Regions from separate parts of the Homo sapiens genome. Here all the other regions are linked to region 2. The links are contacts of gene promoters, found by promoter capture Hi-C in human tissues and cell types (Jung and others, 2019). All regions are on one chromosome and are shown on one strand. The core of a region is centred on a gene start or on the middle of the fragment in contact, and the rest is flanking DNA. Distances in the headings are between cores, read along the strand shown. Region 1 overlaps KALRN (kalirin RhoGEF kinase). Region 2 holds the start of UMPS (uridine monophosphate synthetase). Region 3 overlaps KALRN (kalirin RhoGEF kinase). Region 4 has its middle 4.8 kb from the start of MUC13.

What was found. Contacts are between HindIII fragments. The study calls those that stand out against the background at their distance.
Region 1: a contact is called between a fragment that was not itself captured here and the fragment with the promoter of UMPS in region 2, in 3 of the 25 tissues and cell types used here (dorsolateral prefrontal cortex, lymphoblastoid cells and mesenchymal stem cells).
Region 3: a contact is called between a fragment that was not itself captured here and the fragment with the promoter of UMPS in region 2, in 1 of the 25 tissues and cell types used here (liver).
Region 4: a contact is called between a fragment that was not itself captured here and the fragment with the promoter of UMPS in region 2, in 1 of the 25 tissues and cell types used here (IMR-90 fibroblasts).

What each region holds. Positions count from the first base shown.
Region 1 is chr3:124,557,155-124,559,854 of GRCh38, forward strand. The region is part of intron 33 of KALRN (kalirin RhoGEF kinase); the gene reads left to right. All of the region lies in intron 2 of LOC105374076 (a long non-coding RNA gene), which reads right to left. Among named protein-coding and RNA genes, the nearest start is that of UMPS, 170 kb to the right of the region's middle. The HindIII fragment of the contact is 4,316 bases long and covers 1-2,700 here.
Region 2 is chr3:124,729,146-124,731,845 of GRCh38, forward strand. UMPS (uridine monophosphate synthetase) reads left to right here and starts at 1,307. Exons shown (of 6, transcript NM_000373.4): 1 at 1,307-1,482. The coding sequence starts at 1,327. RefSeq lists enhancers at 965-1,564, 977-1,386. The HindIII fragment of the contact is 9,650 bases long and covers 1-2,700 here.
Region 3 is chr3:124,573,789-124,576,488 of GRCh38, forward strand. All of the region lies in intron 34 of KALRN (kalirin RhoGEF kinase), which reads left to right. All of the region lies in intron 2 of LOC105374076 (a long non-coding RNA gene), which reads right to left. Among named protein-coding and RNA genes, the nearest start is that of UMPS, 160 kb to the right of the region's middle. The HindIII fragment of the contact is 5,764 bases long and covers 1-2,700 here.
Region 4 is chr3:124,938,161-124,940,860 of GRCh38, forward strand. No RefSeq gene overlaps it. Among named protein-coding and RNA genes, the nearest start is that of MUC13, 4.8 kb to the left of the region's middle. The HindIII fragment of the contact is 5,379 bases long and covers 1-2,700 here.

The DNA of each region.
Region 1 (2,700 bases), core at 187-2,686, 170 kb before region 2:
TGGGTACAAATGATCCCGTCACCTAGATAGTGAGCATAGTACCCAATAGGTAGCTTTTTAACCCTCATCCACTTCCCACTGGGTAGATTTTTATATTTTAGTATTGGGGCAGGGGGGCGGTGATGTTATTGTTGTAAAATTTTCTTCATTTGAAAAAATGCTATTATGAGCATTTTCATGCTTAAAGTACAGCTGCATGTCACTTGTGTGGTGCATCTCATCTTTTTGCATTTGGAAGGGAATCATAGTCTGGTTTGAGGTGTTTCATGTTAAGGGACATTACCTAATTAAATGAAATCACTTTCTGATGGAGGAATTCCAGGCATTAGCAGCAGGTGCAGGGAGTGTTGAGGGGAGGAGAGAAAGACAGTTTTTGCACAGGAGTTGGCAGGACTTCACGGTGCCCTTGAAACTGTGCCAAGTAGATATGCTCCAGCTTTACATTTTTTGCCAGCCAGCTCTGGCCTCCTGTGAGGCTGTTCATATGTAGATGTTAATTCATGTGAACTTGGTGCCTAAGGCTGGCTAAGAGTTGTGGAGGAATCAGATGATCAGATGGAAGAAGTTGCAGGGCAGGCAGCCAGGGGAGGAAGAGGAGGTCGGACTTATCTGATGGGCGCTCTTGGGCACAGCTCCCCCTCTGTCAAGAGTATCAGATCCAAGTGCTCTGCAAGGCAGTGTCAGAAGTCAGTATTCACAGTTAGAAGGCTCAGTTGGCAAGTATTGAGGGCAGGTATCAGATTCTGGGGTAAGGGGGCTTCTTCACATGGAAGCTTCCTGGAAAGCAATGCGGAATGAAGAGGCAAGAGTGAATCCTCATTTTGCATAAGGGATTCCTCGGTCCCACCATGTCTTTGTTTTTATCATAACAGGAAAAGTATGTGCTGATTTGAGGGAGGTCTGAGTCACCTTCCCTAGTGAGCCTCAGGGTCAGTTCTTCTAGTTAGGGCAAAACTCCATGAAGATTACTTTAAAAAAAAGGATTCACTTACATAATAATGTATATGCATATATACAGTTGATACAGTCTGTTACCAAACAACATGCCATCAAAATTGATGTTTAAAATTTCTTCTGTACTCCTTTCCTCCCAAATTTAAATAATAATTCACTAATACCGCCAGAATTTTTTTTTTTCTTTGAGAGGGAGTCTCACTGTGACTCCCAGGCTGGAGTGCAATGGCATGATCTCGGCTCACTGCAACCTCTGCTTCCCAGGTTTGTGCAATTCTCCTGCCTCAGCCTCCTGAGTAGCTGGGAATACAGGTGTGCACCACCACACCTGGCTAATTTTTTGTATTTTTATTAGAAACAGGGTTTCAACATGTTGGCCAGGCTGGTCTGGAACTCCTGACCTCAAGTGATCCACCGCCCTCGGCCTCCCGAAATGCTGGGATTACAGTCACGAGCCACTGCGCCCAGCCCAGAACTTATTTTTTAGACAATCATTTAGCTCTCTCTGCTTAAGGCACTATCCTAGGTGCTTTAATACTATCTCATTTAATCTTCACAACAAGCTGTGAAGTAGATACTGTCATTATCCCCATTTGACAGATGAAGAAATTGAGACAAAGAGGTGAAGTAACTTGCTCCTGGTCACACAGTTGGTGAGGAGCTGCAGAGCCCATGCCCTAAACGAGGCTATGCTGCCTTGGAGAATGGAGCAGAGACACAGAGGTGCACAAATGGAAGCTCTGAAATGACAACAGGAGAATTCTTCAGGGGTCCTGTCCTCACTCTCTGGATGCCATTGGGAAACCATCACAGAATAACTGTGTCTTTTCCATAACATGAGGAAGCTCAAAGGGACAATCTAGCTCACACAGTTTATACAAGAAGGAGGTTCAGTTAATCCCCAAATATTAATCATGTAAAAATAGACCTAAATGAAAATGATCATTTCTGGTGAACGTGAGAACTTTGAAAATGCAGATGGAGTTACAAAGAGTGGTTACGAAATGTCCCTTATGTATGTAGCGGTCCATGCTGGAAAGAAGCCAGCACAGCTATCACTGTGGAGCTGGAGGAAAGTGAGGACAGGAGGAGCTCCTTCTGCCCCTCTGGGAAGCATTGCGGAGGGTGAAGGAGGCCGTGTCCACCCAGGGATTGGTCAGCAGGGGAACAGGCCCCACTGGGAATGGCCAGGACCCAGAAAGGAGAGAGACTGGGAAAGTAAGGACAAGGAGTTGGATGGTGACTCAGCAGCAGGCACTTGGAGGGAAGCCAGGCAGACAATTAGCATCAAGAAGGCTTAGCAGGCCTTAGGCAGGGTTCTAGGGAATTAGGCAGAGAAAATATCTGAGAGCTCCTGGGAAGGGGGCCAAGACTTAGGCATGAAAGGCCAGACAGGGACTCGCTGCTGGAGTGGGAGCATACAGTGAGGGGAGTAAGATGAGAGAAGATTCCAGAAGCAGGGGTACAAGATCAGAGAAGAATCAAAAACATAACCTGAATGCATGCCGAGATTCTGTGCTGCCTACTCAGCTCCCAGCATCTCCCTGAGTAGGAATAACTTTGGTCTTAGAATCTTACCCTACAGCATCCCTGGAGGAGAGGATGGGAGGGACTGTTGCAGGAGCAGCTCTGCCTGACCCCTCAAACCATTTCCCCAGCACCCTCCCTTGTTGGCCATTCTTTGGAATTCGCTTCTTGCCAGGGTAGGGACCTGGTGTAGTATATCTTTTTGATCAAGCCATTGAG
Region 2 (2,700 bases), core at 57-2,556:
AAGTATTTGTTATAGTTGACACATGATATCGTACACATTTATTGGGTACATAGTGCTATTTCAATACACACAATGTACAGTGATCAAATCAGAGTAATTCATATATTCCTCACCTTAAATATTTATCCTTTCTTTGTGTTGGGAACATTCAAACGCCCCTCTTCTAGCTATTTTAAAATATATAGTAAATTATTATTGACTACAGTCACCCTACAGTGCAATGGAACACTAGGACTTATTCCTCCTATCTAGCTGTAATTTGTGTCCTTTAACCACCCCCTACCCTTCCCAGCCTCTAGTGATTACTATTTTATTCTCTAGCTCCATGAGATCAACTTTTTTAGCTTCTGCATATGAGCGAGAACATTTGGTATTTATCTTCCTGTTCCTGGCTTGTTTCACTAACATAATGTCCTTCAGGTTCATCCACCTTGCTGCAAATGACAAGGTTTCATTCTTTATGTGAATTTAAGGGTTATTTTCCTTAAGCTAGAATAAAGTATTGCCTTATATACACAATGGAGAAGGGATTTATTTGTACAGATTATTTATTGATTATTTCTTTAAGGGATTTATTTGTAAAGACCAAATATGTTTGGATTTTCAGATTGTCTAGCAATATTATCCTCCTGGATAACCCTGATACCAATCAATTAACCGTCTTCTAACTCTCCTCCTTCCCTCCCTTACCTTTTCTACACCTATTACCTAAGCATTTGAGGTACGCCAAAGGAAATAAAAAAGTACTCCTCCAGGAAGCAGAGTACAGACAAAAGAGGTAATGAATACTGTAATGATCTAAGTGCTATATATTCCTATGTGCAAACTGCTATGGAACTGTCACGTACTAGATGCTATGAAGTTAATAAAAGAATTGAGTAAAGGTCCCTGTCTTTGATAACTTATATTCTATTTGGAGAAACATGGGGGGTAAATCTTGGCTAATAACTAGCAAATATAACATGTTAGGCCAAGGAGTAGAGATAATTAAGAGAACTAGTCGAGAAGGCATTGGCTATTAAAAAATGGACAGGATTTATGCAAACTCTCATGAAAGGTGGGACTTCATGATCCTACAGTCAATCTAGCTGTTCTGGGCTTTGAACCCCAGCGACCCCATCCAGAAGAAACCAGGAGAAGCACAAACTGGCGCTAGGTTCGCTACCATCCACCTGACCCTTGAGCCCGGGGAAACCCACGGGTGCAGCAAGCCGGGAAAGCTGCAGACGAGGCAGGCGGAAGAGGCGGGACTTCGCGGGTGACGTCATCGGGGCGCCGGAGGCCCGGGGCGCCTGGGAATTTGAAGCAAACAGGCAGCGCGCGACAATGGCGGTCGCTCGTGCAGCTTTGGGGCCATTGGTGACGGGTCTGTACGACGTGCAGGCTTTCAAGTTTGGGGACTTCGTGCTGAAGAGCGGGCTTTCCTCCCCCATCTACATCGATCTGCGGGGCATCGTGTCTCGACCGCGTCTTCTGAGTCAGGTGCTGGCCTAGGAAGGGAAAGGACAGGGCTTGGTGGCGGGAAGGAGGACAAGGAAATGGAAGAGGGTGACAGGAGTTGGGCCGTGAGTGAGAGCAAAAGAGCCAAGCAGGCAGACCGACCCTACTCTTGGTTTGGGGAGTAAGCATGAGAAGCACAGAGGCCAGGGGTTGGGCTCCTCGAGAGTCGTCTGTTCTTTCACCCACACGCTTAGACACGTGTTTTGCAAAAGTCGGGAAACCCAGTTTGGAACGCTTTCTGGCACTGAAGCACACTTGAATGAATTCTGTATATTTAACTCTTTAAGAAAATTAGACTTGCGGCCGGGCGTGGTGCCTCATGAGAGTAATACCAGCACTTTGGGATGCCTAAGTGGGCAGATCACCTGAGCCCCAGGAGTTCGAGACCAGCCTGGGCAACATGACGAGACCCCGTCTCTACAAAAAATTAGCTGGGTGTGGTGGCGCACGCCTGGGACGCTGAGGTGGGAGGATCACCTGAGCCTGGGAGGTCAAGGCTGCAATGAGCTGTCATTGCGCCACTGCACTCCAGCCTGGGCGACAAGTGAGACCCTGCCCTCAAAAAACAAACAAATAGACCGGGAAAACGTGGGTAGGCAGAGAATTCAGTAGCTGGGAAATTACTGGTGAGAAAAGGAAAATAGAACAACCAGAACTCTGTGATGTATACAAAATTTATCAGAGCCCAGAGAGACTTCAACCATACTCCCCTATGCAGCCCCGGGACAATTATTTAAAGGAATTTTGTCCCTGACTAGCTGCCTCTCCCATTATCTTAATGTACCTGGAATGTGTGATACAAAGAACAATGTATAGCTAATCAATCGCTTGTGTTATTATTTTATTTATTTATTTTTTAGATGGGATCTCTCTTACGTCACCCAGGCTGGAGTGCAGCTCTGTGATCATAGCTCACTGCAGCCTGGAACTCCTGGGCTTAAGAGATCTTCTTGCCTCGGGTGAGCACAGGGGCTCATGCCTGTAGTCCCAACTTTGGGAGGCTTTCTTTGGGAGGCTGAGGCGGGTGGATCACTTAAGGTCTGGAGTTCGAGACCAGCCTGGCCAACATGGTGAAACCCTGTCTCTACTGAAAATGCAAAAATTAGCTGGGCATGGTGGTGCACACCTGTAATCCCAGCTACTCAGGAGGCTGAGGCAGAAGAATCAGGAGGTTGCAGTTAGCCGAAATTGAGCCACTGC
Region 3 (2,700 bases), core at 111-2,610, 160 kb before region 2:
TGATTTCCCAAGAAATAATGGCTTAATCCTCTCATAACTTTCTTTTGACTTTAACCCAGAGGATTGAGATAATATTTGATATATTTGAGCTAAAAATTCAAGTTTTTCCTTGGCTTGTACCTCTGGCACCTCTCCATGACCTATTCTCTGTCATTAATTCTGTGGTACTTGAAGGTAACATTTGGACCACATTATGGAGATGGGCTGACCTGTGTGATGGGGGTTGTGCTGACACTGTGAGTGTTGGGTGTATATGAGGGGACCACTCTTTAATTCAAAGAAGAGCAGGACAGAGAGGAGTTTCGTGGAAACTGCCTCAGGCCTGCTTTGTTCTGGTTGAGATGTCCTGCCTGTGGCTACATCCATCTAATACTATTTAGGACATGAAAGGGCTTAGAATCAAAGCCTCAAATAGGAACATGTCAGGGCAAGCCACATCCTTCTCTAAATACAACTCAGTGTCGTGCTGTCTCCAAGTAGAACTGAAGCAGGAAGACCCAGGTGTCCATGGAAAGAGCTGGTCTCTCTGGGTCCCTCTGCAGAGATCCTGCATTTTTCCCTTTTGTAGCCAGCCTGCTGTGACTTTGCTTATGTTAAATGCCAATTTCAACAGCATGTTTTCATGCCTGCTGGTGCCCACTGTAAATCTGTGACATCTACATGATGATGATGCCCCTTATCATCCAGAGGGGAAGTCAGGGGCAAACTTGAATATGCTCTTTGGAGCCAATGAACCAGCTGATGGAGCTCAGAGCTAAAATGAGAGCCTCAGGATTTGATCCCAGAGAAGAAAGGCTGCCACTGACTGCTTTCTGAGAAGAAGCTGGAGATGATAGAGAGGAGGTTACCCCAGCAAACAGAATGTTCCCCCAGAGGAAAGATGGTGCAGTTTTCTTGCTTACAGCTAGCTAAGCTGAACACTTTCCCCCTAGAAGAACACGGGGACCCAGGAATGACATGCACTGAATGTGACTTGAGGAAAAGAGAAGGCAAGGCAATGGTCTGGACAATCTTGGGATGTGCCCATCCTGTCTGCTCAGGGAAGGGCAGAGATGGGAGGACCTCAAAGGCCTTGAGGAGCAGCCCTTGCAGGCCACAGCTCTAGGAGCTCTCAGCAACAGGATTCTGCAGGACAGAGCAGTCAGCACCCTCCTCTCACCGCCACACTGCCTTCCCTGTCTCACTTGCTCCTTGAGAACAACTCCTCACCGAGGATCTATGTGGGGGTGAAACTGCAGCCTTAACCCAAACCCTGCAAACAAGCATGAGAAGTCTTTCCATTTACTACTAATTGCCATTCTGAATACCAGCCCTCTGCCCTATGGGCAGTTACTGAACAGCCTGCCCCTTTCTTTGCCCTTGTGGTAGGACTGGGTTGTCTTGTTTTCTCCCCGTATCCACTAACCCCAGCCAGAATCTTGATTCTCAGATTGTGCCCACTTGCCTTACTTTCCACATGGGCCTCTAGGCCACAGGAAGTCTGGCTCCTCACCTTTGTACACAGGAGGGCGAACAGATAATTGCCCCGTTGCTTGCCCCCAGCTGCAGGGAGGTGGCCCAGGCTGAAGACCCATCTCAGTTCAGAATGTTCCAGTGTCTCCTGTCTCATTTCCAGTAAAACGAAGTCCTTTCTGTGACTGCAAAGAGGCTCCACAAAACCTGTTCTGGAGCCTATTCTCTGACTTCATCTCCTATGTATTCATTTCCTGTTGCTGCTGTAACAAATTACCATGAACATGGTGGCTTCAAACAACAACACAAACTCATTATCGTACAGTTCTGTGGGTTGGAAATGCAACATGAGTCCCCATGGGCTAAAATCACAGTTTCAGCAATCAGGGCCACATTCCTTTTTGTAGGCTGTTAGGGAAAAGCTATTTCTTGCCTCTTCCAGCTTCCAGAGACCACCACACTTTCTCCATCTTCAAAGCCAGCAATGTTGCATCTTTCTGATCCTCCTTCCATGGTAATGTTTCCCCTGGGCCACAGTGGGAAAGGTTCTCTGCTTTTAAGAACACCCACCATTACACTGTCCTCACCAGAATGATCCAGCATAATCCCCTTGCCTCGAGGTCCCTAACAGAATCACATTTGCACAGTCTCTTTTGCCATATAAGGTAACATATTTATAGGTTCTGGAGAGGAGGATGTGGACATCTTTGGCGGACGTTATTCTGTCTACCATTCACCTGACCAGCCTGCCTCACTGAGCCATTACCAATCAAGCCATGCATACGCTCACCTCAGGGCCTGATCTTTTGTTCCCTCTGCTTGGAACACACCAGATACCCCAGATCCTCAGAGACTTGGATGTCTTGCTGTCACACTTCCTTCTGCTTGAATGTCACCTGATTAGAGAGGTCTTCCCTAACTCCCACCCTCTCCCATCACAGTGTATACTCCCTTCTCTGTTTTACTTTTCTTCATTGCATTTATCACTACCTGACATATTTGTTAATATTCCTCTGCAAATCCCCCCTACCAATACAGGGATTTTGTCTACTGTGTTCATTGCCCTATCCCCAGCATCTAAAACAGTAGCTGCCATGTAAGAAGTTCTCAGTAAATATTTATAGAAAGGAGGGACGGATCATGCATCAGGGACCTCTGCAGAGTTCTTATGTGAAGGACCAGGCTCAGCATGTAGAACGGTAAAGGAAACTGGCTTAAGCTTTAGCAGGAGGACTTCAGGATGGGAAT
Region 4 (2,700 bases), core at 42-2,541, 210 kb after region 2:
CTGCAGTTTCCATTTGGGGAGATAACCTGGATTCAGGATTGTTGTGCCCAAGAAGGTAAGGATCCAGAAGGAGGGAGCCCTAAGCCACATTCTCAAAAATAAGCTTCTATAAAAGTAATATTTTGTCTCCATCTGTTGTACTCTGTGTTTTACTTCTCACAGAACTCAAAACCTGGATAGGAAAAAGGGTTGATATTTATTAGTATGAAATGGCTAAATTCTAAGTATTTATCTATAAGTCAAGAACACAGACTCCATTTTCCCACAGAAACAATGTTATATGTTGGTAACGTTGTCACCAAGTCAGCTAAAAAAAAAAAGCTGTTTACCCATAATTACCTGGTTGCAAAAGAACTATTGTTCAGGGTGAGCTTTTCAATAATTCTATTGACTATGCAGAGGAATGGGACATGCCCATTAATCTAAAGCAATATCCAGTTATTTAGGCATAAACTCAAGAGAGCTATATCAGAGCCATTTAGAATTAGAATTTGATCCATCAAGAGCCTCTCTAGCCAGGTGAGGTGGCTCACATCTGTAATCCCAGCACTTTGGGAGGCCAAAGTGGGAGGGTTGCTTGAGCCCAGGAGTTTGAGACCAGCCTAAGCAATATAGTGAGACCTTGTCTCTACAAAACAATTTTAAAATAATTATCTTAACATGGTAATGCATGCCTGTAGTACCAGATACTTGGGAGGCTGAGGCAGGAGGATCCCTTGAACCCTGGAGGCGGAGGTTGCAGTGATCCGAGATTGCACTGCTGCACCACGGCATGGGCGAGAGAGCGAGACCCTGTCTCAAACAAAAGAGCTCCTCTTTGGCTACTTTGATTCTGCAACACTGCAGTACCATGATAAGGCTCTAGAGGATCATTAAAACATAAAATTCTATCAAGATTAAATAGTTAGACCCAAAGATTATTTTCTGTCTATAGAACCAAATGTAAATACATGTTAAGCTCCTATCTCCTTCTCACTAATTCCAGCCCCTCAATAGAGGTGTGAGTATAGCCTTCCCAGAGTCACTACTACCATTTACGGATATCACATTTAGATACTACATGAAGCTGATCAGCATTTTCCTCTCTAATTCAGAAGACCATTCCCAGAGAAATGACTTGTGGAATGCAATATTCCCAACTCAAATGTCTAATTGATGACACATTGACAGAACCATTTCCACTCTTGCTTTTTATACCCTCTGAAATTAACTTTTCAGTGAATGGTTGCTTTACATGAGTAATGTTCAGGAGGGGGCTGTTCAGTCACTCCCAGGTACTCGAGGCATCTCTGCACATCCATCAGGTATCGAAGATGAAGCAGTGAACAAGATGATGAAGGTCTCTGCTCTCCTGAAGCTTCTGTGAGATCATGGGTAGTGGAGGTCGGCAAAAAAAGTAATTAAATACAATGATTTTAGAGAGTGGTCAATGCTCTGAAGAAAATAAAACACAACAATGGGATAGTGACTTGTGGGGTATGAGGTGCTACTTTAAATAGGATGGTCAGCAAAACCTTCTTGCAGGAGCTGATATCGGAACTGAGAGCTGCTATTGAAGGGAAGCCTGCCATATAAACATCAGAAAAAGGGCATTCCAGCTAGAAAAGTAGTAAGTGCAAAGGCCTGAGGCCAGAACAAGTCTGGTGTGTTTGAAGAGCACCATGATTTAGGAGGAGACTGGGGGGAGATGTTGTCAGAGAGGCAGGCTGGGGCCTGATCCTACAGGATCTTAGAGGCTGTGGAAAGGAATGTGGATTTTATTCTAAGCACAATGGCAGAAGCCATGGGAACATTTAAGCAGGAGAACGACAGGCCAGATCTTCCTTGGGGGCCTTATCTAAAGGAGCTGGTCTACTCGCCTGACCATCCCACCTCAGTTCGTTTCCTCCATAGCCCTCATCACAATATGTAATTACTTTGTCTCTTTGCTGGTTTAGCTACCTGTTGCCTAACTTCCATGAGAGTTTCTCTTCCCTGTCCACTCCTCTGTCTCCAGCATCCAGAACAGCTGGCACATGGCAGGTGCTCAGTAAAGATTTATGGAAGAAAGGAAGGAATGAATGAAGGCCGTCCGATTTGTTCTAGGTGCAGGGAACAGGGAATGCAAAGAAATAAGACACAGTTTGGGGTCTTCAGACCCACAGTGCATTCAGACAATTTATCTTCCAAAAGTTGGTTGTCATGATCAAATTATTCAAAAGAGAAAATATTATTAGTAAGTAAATATGTGGGGGAAGAATATTTAGCTTTTTACTCATCTTTTTTTGTTTGTTTGTTTGTTTTGAGAGGGAGTCTCGCTTTGTCACCCAGGCTGGAGTGCAGTGGCGCAATCTCGGCTCACTGCAAGCTCCGCCTCCTGGGTTCATGCCATTCTCCTGCCTCAGCCTCTCGAGTAGCTGGGATTACAGGCGCCCGCCACCACACCTGGCTAATTTTTTTATTTTTATTTTTTAGTAGAGATGGGGTTTCACCGTGTTAGCCAGGATGGTCTCAATGTCCTGACCTCGTGATCCACCCGCCTCGGCCTCCCAAAGCGCTGGGATCATAGGTGTGAGCCACTGTGCCCGGCCTTTACTCATCTTAAAGATGTTACAACTAAAACAAAAGTGAGATTATATTTTACCTCTTTTTTTTTATTTTAATTTTTTTTTTTTTGAGATGGAGTCTCACTGTGCCACCCAGGCTAGTGTGCAGTGGCAT